Regions from separate parts of the Homo sapiens genome. Here regions 1, 2 and 3 are each linked to region 4. Evidence: promoter capture Hi-C in 16 types of primary human blood cells and fetal thymus (Javierre and others, 2016). All regions are on one chromosome and are shown on one strand. The core of a region is centred on a gene start or on the middle of the fragment in contact, and the rest is flanking DNA. Distances in the headings are between cores, read along the strand shown.

Region 1 (3,265 bases), core at 15-2,514, about 21 Mb before region 4:
CCCGTTTCTCGAGTCCAACACAGAATTAAGGGCTGATCCCTGGCAGCGATGAGCACAAGTCAAGATGCGTCTTGGGAGGTTCGGACGTCCCTCGCCCTCGGCCACTCCGGCAACTAGGCCGGGTACTAAGCGGCAGCGCAGAGGGAGGGATCCCAAGGCTCCGGCCGAGGAAGCCGCAGGCAGCCCCGCAGCACGAGTCCGACCCACACCTCCGGCAGCCTAGTGGAGCATCGACTCGAACCGCTTTTGTCTCCACAGGGGCTGTCGCGCCGGGAAAGCGGCCAGTGGGCAACACCTGCCGGGGCGGGAGGCGCCGGGGCCCTCCCGTGCACACACCTGCGCGTGGGCCGGGCTCAGGCCGACCGGAACCCTGGACCATGCGACCCCGGCCCACCGTGCCAGGGCCCGCCGCGCGACCGCTGTGCCAGATGGGGGAAGGGGACGCGGGCGGCGGCGACACTTACCCGGCAACGCCTCCTCCTTCGCCGGCGGCAGCAGCAGAGCCAGCGACCCCCGGCACCATCTTCCGCCGCCGCCTAGTCCTCGGCAGCGGTTACCAACCGCCCATTCGGCACCGCTAAGCCGACACAACCGCCGGCGTCCCGGGCGCCCGCCCGCCGCGGCCCCGAACTCTAGGAGGCAGGGAGGGGTCCGGGCGGACAAGGACGCGAGCAGGCCCCTCGGCTCTGGGTCTGGGGCCGGGGGACAGAAGGCCGCGGCCTGTCAGAGCCGAGGGGCCCAGGCGACTGGGGGATTCTGAGGCAACGCCGAGGGCTCGGCAGGGCCGCGGACACCGCCGCGGCTTGGTTTGTTATTGTCGACTCCGTCTCTTCCTCCGCGGCGCATGCCGGGAAACGGCCTGCCGGGGGAGGGGCGCGCCTGGAGGCGCAGAGAGGCGTCTACGCAGGTCCGGAAGTCGGCAGCCTGCCGGGAAGGGGGCGGCCCCGCCTCCGGCTCTCCGGCCGGCAGGTTGGCTGTCCTGGCCTGACCCTGGGAGACTCCGCTGGGGCCGCCTGTTATGGTGCTAGCTGCCGTCCCGGTGCGTACTTTCCCAAGGTGAATTTGACCTTCTTTGCGACAGCTAGGCCCTGACTAAGGTCGACCCACCAAACACTGGATCGTCCCCAGGCGAAAGAGAGCTTGTTCCCCTCAGCCTGTCGCGGAGGAGCGGAGCCAATCGAGGGTCTGGTGTCCCCGTCGCCTCTCCAGGGGCAACCTGCGGACTAGGCCAAGGTCTGTAACAGGATAACGTACCAGCGCCTGGCCCAGGCGTTCCTGCCGCCACCTCCCCGCATATCCGGACCGCCGGGACTGCACGCAGCTGGCAAGCGTCCCCCTGTTAACTCTGCAAGGGTGGGGCGGCACCATTTCTCAGACCAGGTAAGGCAAGAAAACATGCAAGAGAGAAGAGAGGGAAGCCTAGGCCAATCGGAATGAAAATGTAAACGCCACAACCACGTTTTCAGCTTTACAAATACTGAATCTTGTAGTGGGTCTAGTGGGTTAGGGGTTAGCATGAGCACCCTAATGGTTGGGAGACAGTTTCAGGGGACTCTTGCATTTGTGAAGATGATCAGTCACAGGCAATGACTTGAAGCCACGAGGCTTGAATATTAAAATCTGATGAGCAGATGTTACACGTAGAATAATTACATAATAGTTCTCAAATTCCTGTTATATCCAGGAATATCTGGTATGAGTGAAAACTTGGAGGTGCCTTCTCTAAAGTCATCAGGAATTCTGAGTTGTGTTTGTAAAAATAGGAGGCACAAGAGGGCACCAAACTGAACAAAATGTTAGGTGGAAACTGAAAAACGTTGGTTAGCATGAACAATTTCAGTTTTCAGTCACACTGACCAGTATCTGTAAGTTAGGATTGAGATGGGCTTGTTTTATTTATTTACTTTTAAATTTGTGCTGCTACATATCCCAAACAAATGTGGTCTTTATCATCACTGGCAAGCCATTTTACTTATTGGTTAAGCTGGAATTTTATTACACCACCCCAGCAAGATAGAGGAGAAAAGCGAAAATTAAGTAGTAAATGGTTATTATGCCTTAAGGGAAGGTGTGAACTGGCAAGACAAAAGAGCCAAATTTAGTAGTAAAGCATAGTCATCAGCACACAGAAAATAAGTGGTGAGGAGGAGTTTGGCCAGAAAATTGGCTAAGAAAAATGGCAGTATGACCAAGAATGAAAAGAAAAAGAAAGAAAAGAAAAACTGCAGTATGAGGCCTGTAAAGAACGTATTGGTACTTGCACTTCCTCTTATTAGTGACATTCATTATTACAAATATAACCCAATTTAGAATGTAAAAATCTTGCTGGAGCTCGGTGCAGTGGCTCACACCTGGAATCCCAGCACTTATGGGAGGCCGAGGCAGGAGGATTGCTTGAGCCCAGGAGTTGGAGACCAGCCTGGGCAACGTAGTGAAACCCCTTCTCTACAAAAAATACAAAAATTAGCTGGGCGTGGTGATGCACACCTGTGGTCCCAGTTACTCAGAAGGCTGAGGTGGGAGAATCAGTTGAGCCCAGGAGGTCGAGGCTGCAGTGAACCATCATGGCACCACTGCACTCCTAGCCTGGACAACAGATTGTTGCCCTGTCTGAAAAATAAAAAAAAATTTCTGAACTATGCCAGTGATAATCTGGTAAATTATAAATGTTGTCTGACTTTTTTCTTTGGAAAATGAATTAATTCAGTCCTAACCTTCTCTCTTAATCACAGGTTGCAATAAATTACCAGAAACGACTGGTTCATACCTTATACACCTCCAGTGTAAATGTTAAGAGTTTGTATATTCTTAACAGACTCTTAACAAACATCAGTAATTCTTTCCTAGGGATAAGTGAAAATGTACTAACATTAATTCTATTATATATATGCAAATATCTAGAGGAAATACTGTTTATAAGTTACTAATACATGTATCCATGGTAGTAGGTCTTGAAAAGTTACTTTTGTTGCCTATTGGACACCCTCTATTCTCCCTTCCTTAATAAAACAAAAAAAAGAACAAACAAAATTCTGTAGCATCACTTCTCAACCAAGCTTTCTGATAGGAAGTCCTCAGTCCAATCTCATTTTTGGCCTACTGTGCATTTCTTACTTAACTTGCAAACAGATCATTAACAAGGACCTCCAAATTACAGTAAATTACAGTACTAAGATTTTACTTGAACTTTCTAAAGCATTCGCCATTTTAAATTATTTAACTTTTATACTCCTCCTTCCCTTTTGTGCTGTTTCCTTCCTGGCGC
Region 2 (3,344 bases), core at 67-2,566, about 55 Mb before region 4:
CTCATTCTTTCCTAATGTTTTTCCAGGAGTATACCCCAACTTAGTCATCATGCTTTGACTCTCTGAACTGTAAATCATAGAGGGAATGGTGATTTCCGTACCCCACTGTTGTAACAAATCTTTTCCCCACAAATTAATGGGAATGGCAGTAATTATAGGTTGGATGGTGCCTTCCTGTCCATCTGGTACTAAACAGTGTAAAATTGTAACACTCTGATAAACTTCAGATGCCATGCCTATTCCAATTAAACCCATAGAAGCTCTCTGTTTGGGCCATGTTTTTGGCCACTGATCCAGGGCTGTAACAGAAATATTAGCGCCTGTATCGACAAGTCCTTCAAAGAGTTTTCCCTGAATCGTTATTGTGCACACAGGTCTATTTTCAGAAACTTGACTTACCCAATAAGTTGCTTTTCCTTTGCTATCAGTGCTGCCGAAACCACCTTCTCTTTTTACTGTACTTTCTCCTACTTAGGTAATAACAACAATTAGGTAATAAGGTAATAACAACAATTGAGCAATTCTCTCTGCCTGGCTTGCACTCCAAGGAATACTAGAACTAATAACCAATTGAATTTCTCCCACAAAATCGGAATCTATCACTCCAGTATAAATTTGAACTCCTTTTAAATTTAGACTAAATCTCCCTAAAACAAGTCCAACTGTTACCTCAGGTAAAGGGCCAAATACTCCAGAGGGCACCTTTTGAGGTGGTTCCCCTGGAAGCAGAGACACAGCTCTGGTGCAACATAAATCTAAAGCAGCGCCCCCTGTTGTAACTGGCGCCAATTATGTTACTGTGGTGGTCACTTGAGGGATTAAGGGCACTGGTGCCCACTGACGGACAAACTGCTGGAGAGGGAATGCCCCAGTTTGGAGTGGGGCCTGAGGCTGGCCCCTCTTCCCATTTCCCAATTGCGCCTGCAAGGGTTGGCCATTTTCATCAAATTTGGAGTGACACCGTTTAGCCCAACATTTACCCTTCTGGCACCTGGGACATAAGCCAGGTGGCTCCTTTGTTTGATTAGATCTGGATTGTTTGTTTGATTTGTTCTTATATTCCTTTTTTGTATTTCCAAATTGCCCACAGTTATAACAATTGCCTGAAAAGTTTTTCACTGGATCTCCCACCTTTGATCCTGCCATGTTTTGAGCCATTATCATAGCCTTATGCATGATTCCACCAATCTATCACATGCCCTGATATACTCATTGATTACATCAACTCCCACCAGAACCTTTCCTTTCACAGAGCGAATAGGTGATTGACAGTCAGGGTTGGCATTTTCATAAGCCAAGAATTCTATAATCACCTTCCTGGCACTTTCATCAGTGAGAGCCTTCTGAGCTGCATCTTGAAGAGGAGCAATAAAATCAGGATACGGTTCTTTTGAGCCTTGTCTGACAGAATTAAAAGAGGGATAAGTAGTTCCCGGGTCCTGAATTTTTTCCCATGCCCTCAAGCAACAATTGCGAATTTGCTCAACGGCATCATCCTGAAGCACTAATTGTTGTACAGTTCCTCATTGGCCCCCAACTCCCAACAGTTGTTCAAGTGAAATGGCAACAACAGGATTAGCAGCACGGTTTTTTTGATCTTGATTTTGAGCCTCATCGGTCCACCAACTTTTAAATTGAAGAAATTGGGAGGGCGAAAGAGTAGCTTTTGCTAAAATCTCCCAATCGTCCGGGGCCAATCGCTTGTCCTGAGTTACTGAGTGTAATAGTGACTGGACAGAAGGCGAATTGGGACCTTACTGACCAACAGCTGCTTTGAGATCTTTAAGCAGCTTAAAAGAAAATGGTTCCCATACCGCCTGATGGGCACCACCCTGCTGCTGTGGGAGTTCCAAAACTACTGGAAACTGCCAGGCATCGGGATCTCCAGCTAACCTAGCCTGCCGAATAACCATTTGAAATGGTGATTCATTGACATTAGGTGGCAGTGCAGCCCTATGCTGTACTGGTGCTGCAAAACGTGTTCTTGATTCCTGAGCCCCTAATTTATCCATTCGTGAAACAGGGCAAATTGGAGATTCAAACCTCCAAGGCTCCAGGTTACGTTGCCTTATTGGAGGTGGCCACTCCGGATGATCCCAATGAGGAGCCAAAGATTCCTCAAGGCCCTTCTTTGTTTTAAACATATTGGCATAAATAGCTTCTCTATTTTAGGAGCAGCTGGAGGTCCCACATGCTCCTCAAAAGAAATTAAGTCATCTCCAGGTTTGTCTGTACTTTCCTCAAAATCTTCTTCACTATCCTCTCCTCCTTCAACTTCCTTTATATTTATATTGGCGGCAGCACCGCCTTCCTCCGCTGGAATTCTTTCTGCCGGAGGATAAACCTCGTTTTCCATTTGAAACGGTTCCAAGGCTGCTTTAACCATAGCCCAGTCTGACCAGACCGTTAGAAGAATAAGTTTTCCTTCCTTATGAACTTGTTTTAAGGCAATTCCAACCTGCTCCCAATCTTTTAAATCCATGGTACCTTATTCAGGAAACCAAGGGCAATACTGCTCTACTGTTTGAAACAGAGTAATCAAGTTTTCTGTGCTAGCCTTTATTACCCCCCTCTTTAAGAGGAGTTTGATAAAGTGTAAGTAAGCAGAGTGCTTACTTCCCGATTGTCCCATGGTGTCCCTGGAATACTCCGAGCACACAAGCTTACCGCAAGGCCGACCACACGTTCTTGGGAGTCCCTCGACAGACTGGTCTCCGCAATGACCATGCTCAGGTGTAACTCCACCTGGGTACAAGGAGCCCACACTGGGTGCCAAAGATGTAGGGGAACCAGCCCGCTACACCACATGCGTGTTCTCCCCTTCCCGGTGGAAATGAAGGAATGAGAAAAGAAATAAAGACACAAAGTTCAAGAGTTAACAAAAGTGGGTCCAGGGTTCCATCACAACACGGAAACTGCGAAGGCCTTGAGCTCTGGATTCCACTGATGTTTATTGAGTACAATTCCTTTGATCCTATGGGCTGAGGGTGGGCAGATGGTTGGGTGATCATAGAGTGACCATGGGGAGAGGTGGCAGAGGGGCTTAACAGAACAGGATGTGAAAGCAGATAGCCCGTCAGACCACAGGCCTGTGCATCAAAGGAGTGGTCCACTCCAAGCACCATCAGCAGAGCAGCAGAGCTCTCCGCCTCTGGGAACGAGCGAGAGATAGAAGACTTCCTCCTCATCTCTACCGCAGAGGACTTCTCCTCTTTTACAAGCAGCCTCCTGCTGTTCCCTTCTGGGGAATGGAGCAGGGGTCGCTTCCCTTCCCACGAGACCTTTGTTCAGGGACTCAAGTGGGAGGTTGAGCAATAAGCAAGCTTTCTTGCTTAGAGGCTCCG
Region 3 (3,120 bases), core at 130-2,629, about 24 Mb after region 4:
ACATTTTTGGTATTTGGTGGTTATTAATATTACCCCTGCTGTATTCCTTGAGAAAGCCTGTATTTAGTTCACTTAAGACAGTTGCTTACACGCTAATGATCATTTACCGATAAAATACAGAGTTTCCTTATAGCAAAATATAATCTTAAAACCCTAAGGCAGCCTTCAAGCATTTCCCTTATAATTAAAACCTGAAGGCCTGGCGTGGTGGCTCACGCCTGTAATCCCAGCACTTTGGGAGGCTGAGGTGGGCGGATCACGAGGTCAGGAGATCAAGACCATCCTGGCTAACACGGTGAAACCCCGTCTCTACTAAAAATACAAAAAATTAGCCGGGCGTGGTGGTGGGTGCCTATAGTCCCAGCTGCTCGGGAGGCTGAGGCAGGAGAATGGCTTGAACCCAGGAGGCGGACCTTGCAGTGAGCGGAGATAGTGCCACTGCACTCCAGCCCGGGCGACAGAGCGAGACTCTTGTCTCAAAAAAAAAAAATTTGAAAAGGCAGTTCGTTTCCTTCTATAGCTGCATCCCAGAGATGGTCAACATAGCATATAAAAATGGAATTTTTGCAAACCCCTTTTGCAGTGTTGTAGAAAAGCTTAAAATAAAACGTAACGAGAAAGCTCCCTCCATAAGTAAATACAATCTAATGTGCTTCCCCTTATGTGTTATTAAAGCTACAAATTAGTAGGAAAAGAATAGTGCCGCCCACGGGCTTTCCAACTTTTGAATTCTGGGGACTAACAACAGAGAGCAAGAGTGAATGAGCCAAACGACGCAAACGTGCCCTCGCCAGGCTGGCAACTGGTAGGCACGCAGTGTATTAGTTGCCCTGGAGAGAAACACCCTGGAGAGAAATACCCAATTTGTGAACTAAACCTAGGTCCCGGAAGAACAGTGTTCGGCGTCAGACTCCGTTGAGCTCATTCTGGAAGGATCCAACTGGCGCCACCAGGGAGAAAAAGCGATTCCACCTCAATAACACTCCAGAAAAAGGCATGAAGAGCCCTATACCTGCCAGGGCGACTTTGACCTAGACCCGGTGACCCGGTTCCTAGCGCTGCAGCCCTACCCGCCCCCCGCCCGCCCCCGCCTTGCACGGAGCCCCTCCTCTGTACTCATTCGTTGCGCCACGTCTCCTAACTCTGCGCCACCAGCCACCCCGCGAAGGCGTCCACCAATTAACCCCTCCCAGCTTCTGGTCTACAGTAACGGGTCCCCAACGCCGCGTCTTAACCAGGCCCGAACCGACCACCGCCAACCTTCCCTGACACGCCTTTGCCCCACCCGACCCCGCCCGCCCCCACGTGACGCCCACGCCCCGCCCACTGGCGCCCACGTGACCCACGGTCGTCCCCGCGCGCGGCGTGGATCGCGGCCCAAGCCGCCATTGTTCCGCCGAGGGAGGACAGCGGGGCCTGGCGCTGGCGCCGAGACGCCGCTTAGCGGCCGCCACTGGAGACACTCCCTCCCGCCTCCCGGGTCTCCTGGCGGCGGCGGAGTGAGGCTGACAGCGGGGAACCTGGGAGACCCCTCCGCCCTCCCCGCGGTGGCAGCGGCCGATCCCCGGCTCCGGCGCGAGGGACGGCCGCGATGCGCTCGGCCTGAGGTTACCCGGCCCGGCCCTTCCTCGCTTCCCTCGACTATTCCACTGCGTCTCCGCGCCCCGGCGTCATCCTGCGAGTCCCTCTGACGGGAGGGAAGATGGCTGCACGGAGCTGGCAGGACGAGCTGGCCCAGCAGGCCGAGGAGGGCTCGGCCCGGCTGCGGGAAATGCTCTCGGTCGGCCTAGGCTTTCTGCGCACCGAGCTGGGCCTCGACCTGGGGCTGGAGCCGAAACGGTACCCCGGCTGGGTGATCCTGGTGGGCACTGGCGCGCTCGGGCTGCTGCTGCTGTTTCTGCTGGGCTACGGCTGGGCCGCGGCTTGCGCCGGCGCCCGCAAAAAGCGGAGGAGCCCGCCCCGCAAGCGGGAGGAGGCGGCGGCCGTGCCGGCCGCGGCCCCCGACGACCTGGCCTTGCTGAAGAATCTCCGGAGCGAGGAACAGAAGAAGAAGAACCGGAAGAAACTGTCCGAGAAGCCCAAAGTGAGTATGGGATGAGCGGCAGTAGAGAACGGGCGAAGGGCGGGCGTGGAGACCCTCGAGCTTGGGGGAGGCCGCGCCCCAGCCGGGAAGGAAAAGAGTGCTTAGTCGAAAGCCGAGAGGCAGCACTCCCAAGTGGAGGAGGAGGTGATAGGTGGTCATGTTATTTGGGGAATGGGGGGAACTCAGGAAGTATAGGACGAGTGGGGAAGCCCAGTTTCGAGGAAGGAAGTTAGGAGGTCTGGGGGTCCGTTCAGATAGGCGCCCAGAGGTCAAGCCATCTTTGGGAACCGTCACCGCTAGAATAAGCACAGCATCCTTCCTTGAGGCCTGCAGAGTAGGCTGCATGTGGAGCGTAATGGGACCTTAAGGTGGTGTTAGGAAGTTGTATAAAGACTGCGCTCGGAAGACAGATGTCTATCTCAAGTCACATTGAGACAGTAGGCAGTGGAAGAAGTGCGGTGACCTAGAAATTCTGGGGCTTACACAGGATTAAAGGTGTCCAGGTCTAGACGCGCTTCCATTTTAGTTGGGACTGTTAAAGGGAAATGGTTGCCCATTCTTGTTCTGGCAAATGTGGCCAACAGAGGCCGGAACGGGAGCAAGGCAAGAGGGGGTCGGTTACCTAATACGCTTTGAGGTGTATGGTCCTGTGAGAAAGAGCTAAGGCGAGTTCAACGAACGAGTCTGTTGCACACTCTGTGGCGTGGTAGATTTGTGAAATAGAGTAAAGGGAGATGACAGGGCAGAATGGTGAAAGCCGAGAGAGGAATTCAGGCACCGATTTACTGGGCCACGTGTGGAAGTTGCAGAGGGCATCACGTCTGTCTTAGGCCTTCATGTTTTACGTTTACATTCTTTATTGCCATTCCCATGGTTCTCCCATTATATCTTTCATAGTTTTATGTATTTTTAAAAATATTTTACATTTGAGCAAATTGAGACTATGGAGGGTATGCAGAGTTAGAAACAGCACCTAACCTATTTTTATATCCAGCGAATTAAGATCTTCACCTTTTCAGTACAATTCAGTAAGCCAG
Region 4 (3,458 bases), core at 919-3,418:
TTCACAATAGTGAGAAATGTACGGCCACAAGAGGGTAAGAAATTATCGCATGGTCTAATACCAAATTTTCCCCCAAATAGAACCTACCAAGAGATCGAGCAATCAAAGCGTTATCTGTCAAAGCAATTCGCTTCTTATTGATTTTGCCATAACCACGCTTGTAGATTAGTTCATTTACTGACTTCAGATTGGGGTACCTGAAGTGAAAAAGCAAACATAAATAAGGTGACCACTGTTAAAACATCTAAAATTCATGTTGCTACATAACCAATTTATCAAATAGAAATCAAAGGAGAAAAGAGACTTACCCCCATGCAATATATGGCTCTACAATCCTCAGCATGTTAATCGAAGCCTTGTTGAGCTTCACAAAGGTTCCATTGAAGATTTGACGAAGGCGAAGAAGCTGCAACACCTTTCGAACCTTTGGGCTCACTCCATTGATACTGTGGTGAAAACGGACCAGAAATGCATTTGCCTTTCATCGAAATTTTTATTAATACTAACCATTATAGTTTTGAATATCGAATCCTACCTAAACAGATAGGAATCCTCTCATGTTACACACTGAATTTCTGTATTCTATTAAGAGAAGGGATAGGAGCTTGGGGAACATGGCTTGCAACTAAACCATTAGTGATCAGCACCCTCCTTGTTCTAGCTTCCCCTAAAATATTGTTACTCCGGTGTTTCAGAATCAGGGCTCCCAGAAGTAATGTGAAGGTTTTTTTTTTTTTTCCCATTCAAACCCGAATGCAGTAAAACTGAACTTACCCTCTGATTCTGATGACAAACGCCAATTTGGGTTCTGCAGGTACATAGAAGTTGCCAGCTTTTCTTGCCATCCTCGCCATTCGAATTTCAGTTCTGTACATCTGCCTATATTCCTTGTGATAGTGCTTTGCTTTTTCATAGATAAGCTTCCTCCTTGCCTTTCGAAGCTGAAAACCAATAATCAGTTATTCATAATTTTTAGCTCAATCACAATTAGCAATGCCAATCATTAAAAAGAAAACTACAACATGTTTCCTTTAAATCTTTTCTTGCCACAGTATGCAATTACATCCCCCACCAAAAAACCCCACTACCTTCAGATTGTAACATTAGGTAGCTAAGCAATTACTCAGTACAGTTAGGAAGTAAATCTTGCCAAGAACATTCACCTCATCCTCAATCCCAATAAGGCGCCTCCTTATGTGCTAGTGCCTCAAAAAGTTTACTTACCATCTTTTGGGCAAACTTCTTTCTCAGGCGCTTGATCTTCAGCTCTGCGAAATTCCTTCGCTTTTTCTTAAGGGTTTCTGGCACAGCAGGAACCTCCTTCTTCTTCTCTCTAACGTTAATAAACAAAAATGTTATCAATAGCTCAAAAAGCTCACAGCGCTGTATTACTCCCGTACTGAGCAGTGTTGTTTACCAGAAATGCTGTCACTGACTTTAGTCACTAGTAACTTTACTTGCTCTGGCATGCTACAGTGTACGATGCATATTTTAGCTCCATGTCAATAACCTTTAACACCATGTTGCCTAAAACGCAATCACAAATATGACAATAGCAATACGTTTTTCCCTATTTCAACCAAGAGGCCCGGCCTCCGACGACTAATTAAAAAAAAAAACAAAAAAAACACACCAACACCCGAATAACAAAATGTACTAGCTGAAAGACTACTGCAAGGCACTGACCCCGAGACTTTAAGCGCAAAAATTAAAAAATAAAAATAAAAAAAAAACAAGCCACCACCACTCTGGTTCAATCAGGATCCACATGTTGAAAGCAAAGGCCTGGCGGCAGGGAGGCCTGTACCAAGCACCAGCCAAGGACGAACACAATTCAGAGGTTCTGCGCCTCCCCCGAAAGACCCTCTACCGAGGACTGGGCCGTCAGCCAACCGACGGGTTCCACACACATTCCAACCCGACATCTCGTTCCCGGGATCTCCAAAACCTCCGTCCTAAGACCGCCCGCATCCCAACCCTAGCCTCAGGTCCCCACTGGTGTCACACAGCGTTCACAATCAAGCAGGGAGGTGGGCAAAGGTGCAAGCTACGGCCAGAGAGAGAAAAAGTGACACAAAAAGTATCTGGCTCTGGAGATGGAGAAGGATTCTCAAGAGGACCAGAAGCAACTCACTCTACACCCTCCATGGTTCCAGCCGGAAAAAGAGGAAGTTGGCGCATGCGTACTGTCCACTTAAAGACTTCGCGAGAGAAGCCCCACGACTCATAGGTGTCTTAGAATAAGCCGGAAAAGAATCCAGAACTAAAAAGCCGCCTTGCAGACGCAAAGAACTCCCTGATTTAGCCTCTTTCAACAAACTTTCGGGTAAAACTTGTTTGAAGAAAATATATGCATTTGATTAGACTTTTTAATCAATTCAAGAGCAAAGAGTGCTGACACCTTGGCAACTCCGGGTCCTAATCCCCAGGCTGCGCTGACAGGATTAGGCTCCGTTCCTCCCCATAATGTTCCCAGGACGAGCCTCATGGGGACGAACTACAAATCCCAGCATGCACCAGTCTTCGCCCGCCCGGCGGGAGGGCAACGGCTGACCAGGACCGCAGGCAAGCACCGCGGCGACGGTTCCAGCCAGGAAAATGAGAGCCTCTTGGGCCACGTTCCAAACGGCTAGCTGCAATTCGAAGTCACTTTTGGCCGCCCTCCCGGCTCCCTGCCGCGGTAGTCGCAGACTACACCCCTTTCGCCGCTCCGCGAGGTCCTTGTCGTCGCTCCAGCCCACAGGGCTGTCTTCCGCAGCGCCTGATCGCAGGCGGGGCGGTCTGGAGTGCTCTAGCTTACGAAAAGTGGCTAGCCAGGGACCAGTGGGGACCGGACGGCCGGAGGAGGATGGCCGGGGCTCTGCTGACTGCCGAGCTCGGCAGGCGGAGGCCAGGACACCCCACGGGAGGGGGCGTGAGCTGCGAAGGGAGGTGCGAGGAGGGCTGAGGTTGCGGCCACGGCCGTGTGAGAGGGGCTACCCGGCTCGGCTCCGCGGACGGCTGGCGGGCTGGGGGCTGGGCCGGGGGCGGGGTGCGCCCGGGGGCGGGGAGGCCGGGCGGAGGGAGGGCCGATGCCGAGGCTGGCGCGGGCTCTTCCCGGTCGCGGGGTTATATAGCGCGGAGCGTGGAGCCCGCTCAGAGCCGGCCCGGAGCGCTCTGACTTGCAAGCGGGCTGCGCTGCGGAGCCCAGTGCCCGAGTGACACCCGCGGAGAGTGCAGGGCCGGGGAACGCGAGCCCTCGGGGGCAGCTGCAAGGCGTTGGGCAGCGCTTGCCTGCGCCGAGCGAGTCTCCCCTTCCCGGCGCTCCGCCGCCCCGCACCCCACTCTCCCACCCTCTCGCAACTTGGGTCGAGTTGACAACTCCCGCGGCAGCCCGCTGGCCCGTGCCGCCTCCGCTGCGCACCCCTCCCCCGGGGTGAGAGGGAGCCGGCGCGCCGGTTCCGGGGACGCTCGGGCGG

What was found. The method cuts DNA at HindIII sites, captures the fragments that hold promoters and counts their contacts. A CHiCAGO score of 5 or more calls a contact.
Region 1: a contact is called between a fragment that was not itself captured here and the fragment with the promoter of RPL7 in region 4, in 2 of 17 cell types (total CD4 T cells and activated CD4 T cells). The highest score is 10.1, in total CD4 T cells.
Region 2: a fragment that was not itself captured here is called in contact with the fragment with the promoter of RPL7 in region 4 in 1 of 17 cell types (non-activated CD4 T cells); the score reaches 5.7 in non-activated CD4 T cells.
Region 3: a contact is called between the fragment with the promoter of MTDH here and the fragment with the promoter of RPL7 in region 4, in 4 of 17 cell types (activated CD4 T cells, naive CD4 T cells, non-activated CD4 T cells and 1 more). The highest score is 8.8, in activated CD4 T cells.

What each region holds. Positions count from the first base shown.
Region 1 is chr8:52,713,611-52,716,875 of GRCh38, forward strand. RB1CC1 (RB1 inducible coiled-coil 1) reads right to left here and starts at 825. Exons shown (of 24, transcript NM_014781.5): 1 at 465-825. RefSeq lists silencers at 280-749, 780-949 and enhancers at 1,010-1,319, 1,340-1,389. The HindIII fragment of the contact is 3,580 bases long and covers 1-3,054 here.
Region 2 is chr8:17,913,063-17,916,406 of GRCh38, forward strand. LOC124901892 (endogenous retrovirus group K member 25 Env polyprotein-like) reads right to left here and starts at 2,925. Exons shown (of 1, transcript XM_047422511.1): 1 at 1-2,925. RefSeq lists an enhancer at 1-10. The HindIII fragment of the contact is 2,687 bases long and covers 1-2,660 here.
Region 3 is chr8:97,642,805-97,645,924 of GRCh38, forward strand. It overlaps MTDH (metadherin), which reads left to right and starts at 1,380. Exons shown (of 12, transcript NM_178812.4): 1 at 1,380-2,083. The coding sequence starts at 1,703. RefSeq lists silencers at 968-1,077, 1,258-1,717, 1,988-2,057, 2,341-2,509 and enhancers at 1,230-2,210, 2,211-3,120. The HindIII fragment of the contact is 3,502 bases long and covers 595-3,120 here.
Region 4 is chr8:73,291,465-73,294,922 of GRCh38, forward strand. RPL7 (ribosomal protein L7) reads right to left here and starts at 2,169. Exons shown (of 7, transcript NM_000971.4): 1 at 2,135-2,169; 2 at 1,225-1,333; 3 at 775-941; 4 at 309-446; 5 at 88-197. The coding sequence starts at 2,148. RDH10 (retinol dehydrogenase 10) reads left to right here and starts at 3,138. Exons shown (of 6, transcript NM_172037.5): 1 at 3,138-3,458. RefSeq lists enhancers at 1,421-2,129, 1,751-1,800, 1,811-2,170, 2,130-2,837, 2,291-2,780 and a silencer at 2,871-3,458. The HindIII fragment of the contact is 6,100 bases long and covers 919-3,458 here.